Regions from separate parts of the Homo sapiens genome. Here region 2 is linked to region 1. Evidence: promoter capture Hi-C in 16 types of primary human blood cells and fetal thymus (Javierre and others, 2016). All regions are on one chromosome and are shown on one strand. Each heading gives the region's core, a stretch centred on a gene start or on the middle of the fragment in contact. The rest is flanking DNA. Distances are from core to core; before and after follow the strand shown. Region 1 holds the start of LARP4 (La ribonucleoprotein 4). Region 2 holds the start of ATF1 (activating transcription factor 1).

Region 1 (6,325 bases), core at 2,869-5,368:
CTGTAGTCCCAGCTATACTGGGGAGGTTGAGGTGAGAGAATCACTTGAACCCAGGAGGCAGACATTGCAGTGAGCCGAGATCATGCAACTGCACTCCAGCCTGGGCAACAGAGCAAGATTCTCTCTCAAAAAAACAAAAAACTGTTAGATGATACTTTTTAAGTTATATGTATTTCACAATTAAAAATATTTTTAACTGGTGGCATGAGCCTGTAGTCCCAGCTACTCAGGAGGCTGAGGCCAGATTGCTTGAGCCCAGGAATTTGAGGCTATGGTGTGCCATGACTGTACCTGTGAATAGCCACTGTACTCCAGCCTGGACAACACAGTGAGACCCTGTCTCTTAAAAAATAATAAAATAATAATTTAAAAAAATTTTTTGAGGCAGGGTCTCACTCTGTCATCCAGGCTGGAGTGCAGTGTCATGAACATGGTTCACTGCAGCCTCGATCTCCTGGCTCAAGTGATCCTCCCACCTCAAGTGTAGCTGGGACCACAACACATGCCACCAGGCCTGGCTAATTTTTTAAATTTGTTTGTAGAGGTTGGGGGTGGGGGTGGGGGGTGTCTAACTTTGTTGCCCAGGCTGGTCTTGAACTACTGGGCTCAAGCTATCCTCCCACCTCGGCCTCCCAAAGTGTTGAGATTACAGGCATGAGACACGTTACCCAACCTAAAATATGTTTTAATTATTTAAGAGTTATTAAAGCGTCCTAGGTCGTATGAAACTTAACTGCTACCTAAGTAAGTAAGTACAGTTGGCCCTCCATATCCATGAATTCCATATCCATAGGTTCTGTATCAGTGGAGCAATCAATCACAAATCAAAAATACTCAGAAAAAAAAATCATTGCATCTGTACTGACAATGTAGAGACTTTTTTCTTATCACTCTATAAATAATACAGTATAGCAACTATTTATAAAGCATTTACATTTTAATAGGTATTATAAATAATCTAGAGATTATTTAACATATACACAAAGATGTGCATAGGTGCTACGCAAATACTATGCCTTTTTATGTAAGACTTGAGCATCCAAGGTTTTTGGCATCTACAGAGGGTCCTGGAACCAATTTCCCACAAATACTGAGGGACAACTGTCTTCATTTTCAGGGAAAAACTCAAACAGAGACAGAAACCCAATTTCAGTAGTCACTGCATACCCACCCTTCCCAGTCTCTAGTTTTAATTTTTTTTATTTAAACAAAAATTTCAGCTTGAGCAAAAAAGCAAAACCCTGTCTCTACAAAAAATACCAAAAAAGAAAAAAATTAGCCAGGCATGGTGGTACATGTCTATAGTCCCAGCTACTTTGGAGACTGAGGTGGGAGGATCACTTGAGCTGGGGAGGTGGAGGCTGCAGCAAACGAGACTGTGTCTCAAAAAATTAAAAATTAAAAAAAAAACTGTAAATAAAAGAGAGAAATGAAAAAATTTTTTTAAATTACTATCTGCCTCCTTAGGGCTCACAAGTTTTAAGTAACTTGATAGCATTCAGATGAAGGTAGTACACTGCAGTTTCAAACTTACAAACAATTTGTTGTAAAAGAATTCATGGCAGGTCATGTTTGATGACTTTGTGAATCATCCAAACTTTTACCTCTTTCCAGAGAGGGACATTGTTTGTTTCTCCTTCAGAACAGAGGTGGAAAAAAAATCTGCCAGGCGCGGTGGCTCACGCCTATAATCCCAGCACTTTAGGAGGCCAAGGCGGGCGGATCACTTGAGGTCAGCAGTTCGAGACCAGCCTGGCCAACATCGTGAAACCCGTGTCTACTAAAAATCAGGAAAAAAAAAAAAAAGGCCAGGCATGGTGGCACATGCCTGAAGTCCCAGCTACTAGGGAGGCTGAGGCAGAACTGCTTGAACCCGCCAGGTGTGGTGGCTCACGCCTGTAATTCCAACACTTTGGGAGCCCGAGGTGGGCGAATCATGAGGTCAAGAGACCGAGACCATCCTGGCCAACATGGTGAAACCCCATCTCTACTAAAAATACAAAAATTAGTTGGGCGTGGTGGCATGCGCCTACAGTCCCAGCTACTCGGGAGGCTGAGGCAGGAGAATCACTTGAACCCAGGAGGTGGAGGTTGCAGTGAGCCGAGATGGCGCCACTGCACTCCAGCCTGGGCAACAAGAGTGGAAACTCCGTCTCAAAAAAAAAAAAAAAAAAAAAAAACTGCTTGAACCCAGGAGGCGGAGGTTGCAGTGAGCTGAGACTGCGCCACCCTCTAGCCTCGGTCTCAGAGCGAGACTCGGTCTCAAGAGGAAAAAAATAAAACAAACCAATAATCTACTGAAGTCAATATAGTTGGTCTTGCTCTGTCACCCGGCCTGGAATGCAGTGGCACAATCACGGCTCATTCCAGCCTTGACCTCCCATACTCAAGCGAAACTCCTGCCTCTGCCTCCCTAGTAGCTGGGACTACAGGTACATGCCACCACATTGGGCCCAAGGCCAGGTTTTAAAAAGTTGCATCTAAGTATTATTTACATAGGATTGATTCCTTGTCTGCAATATATTCTACTCCAATACAAGTAGGTGGTTGATGAGTTCTAATACAAGCTTCCATGTTCACTAGCTGTATAAACTTAGGCAAGTTTAAATTATATGTGCCTTAGTTTCTTTTTTTTGAGACAGAGTCTCACTCTGTTGTCCAGGCTGGAGTGTAGTGGTGCCATCTCAGCTCACTGCAACCTCTGCCTCCCAGGTTCAAGCGATTCTCCTACCTTAGCCTCCCGAGTAGCTAGGATTACAGGTGTGTGCCACCACCTCTGGCTAATTTTTGTATTTTTAGTAGAGATGGGGTTTCACCATGTTGGCCAGGCTGATCTCAAACTCCTGACCTCAGGTGATTTGCCACCCACCTCAGCCTCCCAAAGTGCTGGGATTACAGGCATGAGCCACTGCGCCCAGCTGCCTTACTTATCACTAAAATGGGGATACTAACACCTCATAGAGATATTGAGACTTAAGATGTACAGATATCTATATATGCAAAAACATCAAACGTTCCTGACACAAAGCACGATACAAGTATATACTACTACTGTTGTTATTGTTATATTGCTATTATCTATCCTACTGATTCTAGTGGGATAGTTAAGCTGGAATCTCTCCAGAAAAATACACATAAGTAAAAGGTATTGAACACAACTGCAGAGGACCCAGGGATCCCAGATTAACCCTGCCAAAGATGATCCACAAGCAAGTTGGTTTAGTAAAGCAGTTCTTAACCTCTTCTGTGACACAGACCTCTTTAGTAGTCCAATTAATCTATGGATCTCTTCTCCGTTTTTTTACATTTCTAAAATATATAGGATCACAAAGTAAACCAATTATATTGAAACGCAGTTATCAAAATATTTTAAAATGTCTAATATAGCAATACGTTAACAATATTTTTGACATATAGCAAGTAATGAGCATAAATATTTCAAGATAACTGCAAAAGCTGTAATACATGTAAAAAAGTGATTTGTCTTGGTGACAAGGTCACATACACTGTTGCTGCCATTAACATTTAAAGAATTTTCACTTCTTTTCCATTTAGATTTCAGTTAGAAGCTAGAGAAAATAAACACGCAAATTTTTTTCCTCAACCAAGCTTAGGTACTTACTTCCTCAATTCTATCCAAAAACCTAGATTAAGAACCTTTGACTTATGGGAAAGTACAAAAATAATTTTGAAGCCAGAAATTTATGTTCTAGAAGTCAGACTTCAGACTTTAGCCCCCACATTATTTACACTTGAATGACCTTAGACATCTAACTTCTGAGCTTTGGTTCTCTCACTGAGAATAATTCCTCTATCATGAGGTTACAGGGATCAAATATTAGTTAACAAAACGCCAAACGACCAACATGTTGTTTTTCACTGATTTTAATACCACATATTCAGCCCCAAATATTTAAAGACAGTTAATTTTCAATAAAACTCATATGAGAAAATGAAGAATGACATAGTGACTCACAAAGAAAATGATTAATGGAGATACAACTTTTAAACACTAGTTTGGCGAGAGATACGATAGAATTTGTCTAACCTGGGGAGTCGGACAGGCCTGAATTGCTAACATCCCGTCCATGATTTGACATCAGCATGACCTGGATCTAAATCCCAGTTAAACTACTTTACTTTTACTAAGTAAAGTTACTTTAACCTCTGGGGCTCGGTTTTGTCATCTGTAAAACATATTAAGTATCGCTTTAGAGACAGGAGAAGACCTAGTTTAAACAATAAATGGAGCTGTTATTAAAACTTACATTTTAATAAAGCCAAAGGAATCAATTTGGAAGTCAAAAGTATATTGTGGAGTTCCTGTCAATATAAACTTCACAATCTTTCTTCTGCCCAGCAAAACACACACTTAAAACCTGTGGTATTTACATAGCATAACATTCCTTAAAAAAACTGGCTGGCACTGGCTTAAAATCTTATCTGATTTCTTATTCTGCCTAAGGAAAACAACAATGAGGACAGAAAACAGTAAACAGAATGAGTTCAGTAATTTTAAGTCTTTTCATGATTTCCCCGGAATGTTCCAATGAATGTTTATTATGAATGTTAGATACACTCTAATGTAGCAGTCTTTTAAAAAACTAATTTAAAGATATCAAGCTTATCGGCGACACAATATCAGTTAGTTTAAAGAGAAAAAAAAACCGTAAAATCATTTATTTACTTTATGCTGGAATATTACGGAGTAAGATTTTCCCACAACCCGGAAAAAAAAATCTGCCATAGGCTGGCCCCGGCTCCTAGATTCATTATACAACCCGTAAATTCCTTCCCTCATTGAAAAGATTCTTCTTATGGGCATAGTTAACAAATGCCAAGTTGCGAAGTTGCAGCTTTGCTGGTTTGACGTTTTCACAATGTAAGAACAATATGATCTGGAATCTACTCAAAGCATTAGCCAGGCAGTCAGCTGACGCTCACTGCACACAAGAGGACAGAATTAAGGGAAATTAAATTTCGTATTTCTGTAAGGCAGGTATCCAACTCTATCTTGAAAACTAAAATAGGCCAACAGCAGACGTTCTAGTTTAAGTAATAAAAGTGTCTCATTGTTCAAATAACATTACAAAAAACGGCTTTTCCCGGAATAAGTTTCCCTCATTCTTGGAATTTTCCTTGTAAAGGGCTTTTAATCGGTTCATAGAACCAACCCTTCATCACGCAGCTGCTGCTTGAGTAACTTTTACAAAAGGTCAAAGCGGTGCCTTTCAAGGCTTCCAAACCCTACTGGCTTCTCCTCGATTCAAAGTAACTCGCTTTCACCCACAGAACGTTCCAGAGACCTAGGGACGGGGCCCGGGCAGAATTTGGTGGAAGTTGCTCAAAAGAACTTTTCAATTTTCTTTTCAAAATACTTACCGCATTTCACCTTTCTCCATCCGTGGCCCCACATGTTGCTCGCCTCCCTCCCAGAGGGGCCCCGCGAGGCCGCGCTCGGCCCCCGGAACGCGCCCACCTGATTACCCTCTCCTCCCTCAGACTCCGCCCCCCAACCCCCCAATGCTGCCTCCTTTAGGAGGTCCATATGGGACACTTTCCCCTTCCTCTGAACCTCACCGCCACACCAGAACAGCCCTCCGTTTTTCTCCTTCAATTCTTCTCCACTACGGGCCTCACCTCCCATAGCTTCCTAGAGTGTTGTGAGCGCGCAGAGGGAAGCTGCAGGCCTGCTCGGCCCAGGTGCTGTGTCAGCCTATCTGCCGGTTCCGCGGCGTGTACGGCCCGGAAAGTCACATGGCGGTGGGACCGGCCGGCGCCTCTACACTCCTGCTCTCCTAAGAGCAGGACGAGACTAGCATAATGCACTCACCTCCACGAAAAGCAACATGTCGTCCTCTGCTCAGCCCAATCGTTCCCGCCGCCGCAACTCCAACTGGCTCACAGGCCCGCGCCCCAATTGCTAGGATAAGGACACACACTCGCCTTGCCCCTCCACCCGGCAGTGGACCCGGCTCCTCCCCTGCCGTCAGCCGCTGCGGCCTGACCCGCCCAGTCCCACCTCCCTTGAAACAACAACTGCTTCCGGGTCTAGGGAAAAATTGTTTCCGGGAGAAAAGAGAGCCCTCGGCGCGCTCAACTTTTGCACTATCTTTTCCAGCAGCAGTGTGGGATGTACTATCATCTGTCGGGGGGAACGATTAGAAGGAGACGCCATTCTGTGGCACGGGGATGTGTAAAAATCGTAATGACACATTTTATCACTTGTCAGATAGCTACACAGCACTGATAATTCCGCAGTTTTCATAGTTCACAATCTAGATTTGATTTTTAAAGCCGACCTTGGCGAAGTGTACTGAACAAA
Region 2 (6,325 bases), core at 1,987-4,486, 360 kb before region 1:
ATGTTGGCCACGGCTGGTCTCAAACTCCTGACCTCAGGGGATCCACCAGCCTCAGCCTCCCAAAGTGCTGGGATTACAGGCCTGAGCCACCGTGCCAGGCTGATTTTTTTTTTTTTAACCATTCACTTAACCATTTGTACAGTGAGAGAGAAGCCAGAAATCTGACTGGTAATACATTCTTACCCTTTTGCCAGCATCCCAGGCTTCTGGGTTCCCTTTCCCTTAGTGGTCCTAGTGTTCAAGCTTGCAGCATCATTGCCCTGGGGGCCAAGCCGTATCATAAAGGAAAATTATGTTTTTTCCATTCTGGCCAGAGCAAAATACGTGTGATAAAACAAAGACATTAGCCACTCCGCTTAGCACCCAATATCAAACTAGCAAGGCTTAAATTTGCCCCCAGATGGGCCTGTCATCTTTAATTCAACCTCCGACTTGGAGTTTCAACATGTGGCCTCTAGGTAAGATGGTTGCCCTGAGTAATAGAAAAAATAAGAAACGCAAAGTAGATAAGAAAAGTATTGCCTGTGGCAGGGTGGGGAAGCTGAAGAGCTTAGGGAGGCCAGAGAAAAGACCCACTCATTGCAGCCGACAATGAAAACCTCAGGCAGCCGCTTGTACGCAGCAAAGGGACCTTTTCCAGCAGTCCCATCAGCTCTCAAGATTCCCCTTTTATGGGGGGAGGGGGGAGGGATAGCATTGGGAGATATACCTAATGCTAGATGACGAGTTAGTGGGTGAAGTGCACCAGCATGGCACATGTATACATATGTAACTAACCTGCAAAATGTGCACATGTACCCTAAAACTTAAATTAAAAAAAAAAAAGACTCCCCTTTTAGAGAGGAAAAAGCTCCCCATGTCCCACGATCCTGTTCATGCCTAACTCTGTCACCCACAGCCATCAGCAAAGAGCGCAAGGCAGATTAATCCAAAGAGAACAGCAGTTAATATCCCATAGTGCCAAACCTGTTCTTAGCTGAGAGGGAGTTACCTGAGAGGGACTCTAACTCCCTATATCTTAGAAGGGCCTCCAACCCAAGGTCAGTCAAGCTTAAGCGTCCTTGCCTTTTATTAAGAGGGGCCTCGAACCCACTGTCTTAGGAGAGACTCCTAAACATAAATACTGGGTTTCCGCAGTATAGTCGCTTCTGTGGCCACCACAAATACGTTACAGGACCCCAACACTTACCCAAAGGTAGCCGTTGGGTCAGGGTTTCTGCACTATAGTCCCTTTGTGGTCGCCAGAAATATGTTACAGGACAGGCGTCCTGATCCAGGCCCCAACTGAGGGTTCTTGGATCTCGCGCAAGAAATAATTCAGGGCAAGTCCACAGTGCGATGTAAAAGTAACATTATGAAGAAAGTAAAGGAATAAAAAGAACGGCTACTCCATAGACAGAGCAGCCCCAAGGGCTGCTGGTTACCCCTTTTTACTGTTATTTCTCAATGATAGGCTAAACAAGGGGTGGATTAATCACGCCTCCCCTTTTTAGACCATATAGGGTAACTTCCTGACATTGCCATGGGATTTGTAAATGGCGCTGATGGGAGTGTAGCAGTGAGGATGACCAGGGGTCACTCTTGTGGCCATTTCAGTTTTGGCCGGCTTCTTTACTGCAACCTGTTTTATCAGCAAGGTCTTCATGACCTGTATTTTGTGCTGACTTGTCTCATCCTGTGACTTAGAATGCCTTAACTGTCTGGGAATGCAGCCCAGTAGGTTTCAGCCTCATTTTACCCAGCTCCTGTTTAAGATGGAGTTGTTCTAGTTCACACGCCTCTGACACCATCTCTATTTAAAAACAAACAAACAAACAAACAAAACAAAACAAAAACTGGCAAAGATAGCACACCCTATATTTAAAGTCAGAAGGGACTGCCACCTGCTGGTGATCGGGTAGGAATGGACAGATAGCTCACAGACCAAACCTAACCCTAAAAGATAACGGCAAGTATTAAAGAGCTAATACATTCGACTTTAGGGCAACAGTATTGATTCTAATTAAGACACGGAGATAACTGCATATGATAAACTCCAAGAAAAAAGAGCATTTTAGAAGAACGCATTTCTGTTAACAAAAACCTCAGGTTAAAATGCATTCTGAGACATAAATGCCTACGAACTCATCACAGGTGAGGCCAGTTTGACAAAGATGCCTGCCAGATCCACGCCGAGCTTCTGAACCCTAAAGGTTCTCAAAGACTACCAGTTGCCCAATCTCTTCAAAACACTAGCGCCACAACCAGACATTATTTCACATTGCAATCATTTCAAAGCGATTCAGCCGCCAGCTGCACGGCGTCGATCAAAGTGAGAAATGCCAGGCTTCGTTTTTTGACATACAAGATCAAAGAGAAAGTCACCCTCGGCTGGGTCGCCCATCCCAAAGGGTACAGACGCCCTTGTGTCATTCCTAGCCAGGGGTAAAGCCGCCTACTGTCCCCACTCTGTCTCCGCTGCCAGGCGCATCTCTCCAGGACTGTCTGGGGCGTGCGCAATGCCCGTGCGTCGGTTGCCCGCTAGACTGCAAGCTCCAGGAGGGTAAGGGGCGCGCCTCTTCCCTCAGGGTCGCCAGCGCCGACGCGCTTCGAGGACCCTGTCGCGGGGTTAACCAGACCCGGGCTCCGCTCGGCGGACACCGCGCCGAGGCCATATCCGCGCCGCCCTCCGCCCGGCTCCGGGCCCAACCTCGAGACCTCCCACGGAGAGCTAGCGCCTGCGACTGCAAAGGGCGGCTTCTGAGGCGAAAGCCACCCCGCGGCGGGCGGTTTCGGGCTTTACTTTTATTTGGGGGCGAGGGAAAGGAGGAGACGCACGACTGGAAGGGCGCAGCGCAGCTCTGCACCGAGGCGCGGAGGCCGGAAGCGCGGGCGGCCCCTCCCCCTGCCGCTGCGCCCCTCCCCCACCGCCACCACCGCGCGCGACCCCCACCAGGCGCGCGACCCGCGCTGCGTCCCCGCCGGCGCCACGTTCCCGCGTCCTTCCCCGCCCGGGCCACGGGGCACGTCCCTCCCCGCCCCCCACTTACCTGTGGCTGCCGCCTCGCCGCTCTCCGGGGCGGGAACTTCCACTCCCCCCTCCCAGGTAGATCCGAATTCACTACCCACTTCCCCACCCCCTCACGCAGCGGGGGACAAGCCTCCTTCTCGGGGGTCAGGCGGGGCGGGGAGAATCAGTGTCACTTAACAGCCAACTGTCCTAAGCTACCGTTTCCTCGGCAGTCAGGGCCGCTACTGGCGGCATGATCTACACAAGCCTGGGGGCGGGGGCGGGGGCGGGGGAGGGGAGGGGGGCAAAACTGAGCACTAGTGTGCGTTTGGGGTAGGCTATGGCGCTGCCTCCGCGCGGGCCGCCGTCCTGCGTCACCGCGCTGCCCACGTGACGCGCCGCCATCTTGTACGCGGTCCTGACTTGTGGCTAGGGGTTCCTCGGAACGCGTTCCTCAGGCTGCAGCGGGAGAGGGACGGTGCCTGCGGTTCCGTTTCTCCTTAGGAGCTGTACCCCACCCGCCCTACGTCCGCTTCCGGAGGCCATGAGCAGCTGGGTGCTCGCGGGGGGCGTTTTCATCGATTAGTGGCGGCGCTGTCAACTCACCTGCCAATTGACCTTGACCGACGCCGGCCCTGTCCTCTTGGAAGGAGAAATGAAGAGTGAAGGCTTTGACTTCCTCAGCTTTTTTTTTTTTTTTTTTTTTTTAGATGGAGTCTCTTTTTTTTTTCCGAGATTGAGACGGGGGTCTGTGGCCCAGGCTGTAGTGCAGTGGTTCGATCTCGACTCACTGCAGCCTCCAACCCCGGGATTCAAGCGATTCTCCAACCTCAGCCTATGGGGCAGCTGGGACCACAGGCGCGCGCTACCACGCTCGGCTTGAAGAGATGAGGACTCTATGTTGCTCAGGCTGGTCTTGAACTCCTGGGCTCAAGTGATCCTCCGCCTCGGCCTCTCAAAGTTCTGGGATTACAGGCGTGAGCCACCGTGCCCGGCCTTACTCAGATTTTTCTTAATCCCATAAAGTAACAATGAGTTGTGTCCTTTAACCCATGTGGAAGGATTTTCTACAGAAACGGATTTACAATGAGACATAACGATGTGGCCGGGCGCGGTGGCTCATGCCTGTAATCCCAGCACTTTGGGAGGCCCAGGAGGGCGGATCACCTGAGATCGGGAGTTCGAAACCAGCCTGACCAACATGGAGAAACCCCGTCTCTACTAAAAAATACAAAAGTAGCCGGGTGTGGTGGCGAATGCCTGTAATCCAAGCTACTTGGGAGGCTGAGGCAGGAGAATCGCTTGAACCCGGGAGGCGGAGGTTGCGGTGAGCCGAGATCGCACCGTTGCACTCCAGCCTGGGCAACAAGAGCAAAACTGTCTCAAAAAAAAAGAAAAAAGAAACGTAACAGAGTGTTAATAAAATGTTATGCCGTCATTTTAATGCATTACAAAAACTTCAGAATATTTTTGGGTCTACCTCTCTGGAAGGGAGTTATGCCTTATTCTTAATTTTTAAAATTTCCTTGTAAAATGCTGTTTTATGGCTTTAATGATAGTAAACGACAAAAGATAAACTTTTTTAGTATGCTCTTGACAAAAGTTCCGAAAGTTTTCTGAAATTTTACTAGTTTGAGATCCCCAATTTAGGAAACCGATTTAGTGGAGAGAGCTTTGCCTATTTTTGGCCCTTTGGGTCGGAGAATGTGATATAAAGCCGAAGATTTACTCTGCCAGACAGTCTTAAGAGGTCACTAACGTTTAGCTATTGACATTCAGCAAAAATTGTGGATTACCTATTAAATGCTAGACCAGGGGACAACTGTTATTAAGTCAGTGTTTCAGCATTACTGAAAGAAAAGTGGCCTATAAAGGTAAGGGAGAGGAAGAGTTTCTCAGATACCAGCCTTCGATGATTAACAAAGTCCAGCCTCAATCATTCTGGAATCCAGAATATTGATGGCTGGAAGGCTGGTTGTACAAGTTTATTGTTCTTTGGTGTTTGGTTTTTTCTTCCGTGGACCACAGAATGCTTAACAAAAGTTGATCAGTAAAAAGCGGGGGAGGGGCTAGGCGTCGTGGTTCATGACTGTAATTCCAGCACTTTGGGAGGTGGGGGAGGGCAGATCACCTGAGGTCAGGAGTTCGAGACCAGCCTGGCCAACATGGTGAAACCCCGTCTCTACTAAAAATACAAAAATTAGCCAGGTGTGGTGGCACACACCTGTAATCCCAGCCTCTCAGGAGGCTGAAGCATGAGAATCGCTTGAACCTGGGAGGCAGATGTTGCAGTGAGCCAAGATCACGCCACTGCACTCCAGCCTGAGCCACAGAGGGAGACTGTCTCCAAAGAAAAAAAATAAAAACCTGGAAATTTTATTGAAAAATGAAACCTTCAAAATGTGCCTTGACTACTTCTTTAGCTCCTCTTCCTTAGTGCCTTAGGTCTAAATCAAATGTTACGCTCGACCAGTCCTGGTGGCATGCGCCTGTAATCCCATCTACTGGGGAGGCTGAGGCAGGAGGATCATTTGAGCTCGGGAGTTTGAGGATACAGTGAGCTGTGATCATGCCACTGCACTCAAGCCTACATGACAGATGAGACACTGTCTCTAATTTTTTTTTTTTTTTTGAGATGGAGTCTGCCTCTGTCGCCCAGGCTGGAGTGCACTGGTGCAATCTTGGCTCGTTGCAACCTCCACCTCCCGGATTTCAGTGATTCTCCTGCCTCAGCCTCCAAGTAGCTGAGAGATTACAGGTGTGTGCCATCACAGCTGGCTAATTTTTGTAGTTTTTTAAGTAGGGACGGGGTTTCACCATGTTAGCCAGTCTTGGTCTCGAACTGCTGACCTCAAATGATCCGCCTGCTCAGCCTCACAAAGTGCTGGGATTACGAGCATGAGCCACGGCACCTAGCCTCTAAAATAATTTTTTTTAAAATTGTTTAAAAAACAACTCAGGCCGGGCACGGTGGCTTACGCATGTAATCCCAGCACTTTGGAGGGCGCGGTGGGTGGATCACCTGAGGTCAGGAGTTCGAGACCAGCCTGGCAAATATGACGAAACTCCGTCTCTACTGAAAATACAAAAGTTAGCCAGACGTGATGGCGTGAGCCTACAGTCCCAGCTACTCGGGAGGCTGAGACAGGAGAATCGCTTGAACCCAGGAGGCGGAATTTGTGGTGAGCCGAGATCGTGCCACTGCACTCCAGGCTGGGCAACAGTGAGACTCCATCTCAAAAAAAAAAAACAAAAACAAAAAACCACGACTCAGTTGACAGAGGAAAAGAAGAAAAAAAGTTATGCTTGTTCAACACTGCCCCTCAAAAATACTTC

The links. The method cuts DNA at HindIII sites, captures the fragments that hold promoters and counts their contacts. A CHiCAGO score of 5 or more calls a contact.
Region 2: a contact is called between the fragment with the promoter of ATF1 here and a fragment that was not itself captured in region 1, in 1 of 17 cell types (M2 macrophages). The highest score is 5.1, in M2 macrophages.

The regions. Positions count from the first base shown.
Region 1 is chr12:50,400,537-50,406,861 of GRCh38, reverse strand. LARP4 (La ribonucleoprotein 4) reads right to left here and starts at 5,977. Exons shown (of 16, transcript NM_052879.5): 1 at 5,834-5,977. The coding sequence starts at 5,851. The HindIII fragment of the contact is 1,014 bases long and covers 3,612-4,625 here.
Region 2 is chr12:50,761,012-50,767,336 of GRCh38, reverse strand. ATF1 (activating transcription factor 1) reads right to left here and starts at 3,236. Exons shown (of 7, transcript NM_005171.5): 1 at 3,030-3,236. RefSeq lists enhancers at 2,373-2,472, 4,773-5,641 and silencers at 2,893-2,982, 3,203-3,282. The HindIII fragment of the contact is 10,692 bases long and covers 1,053-6,325 here.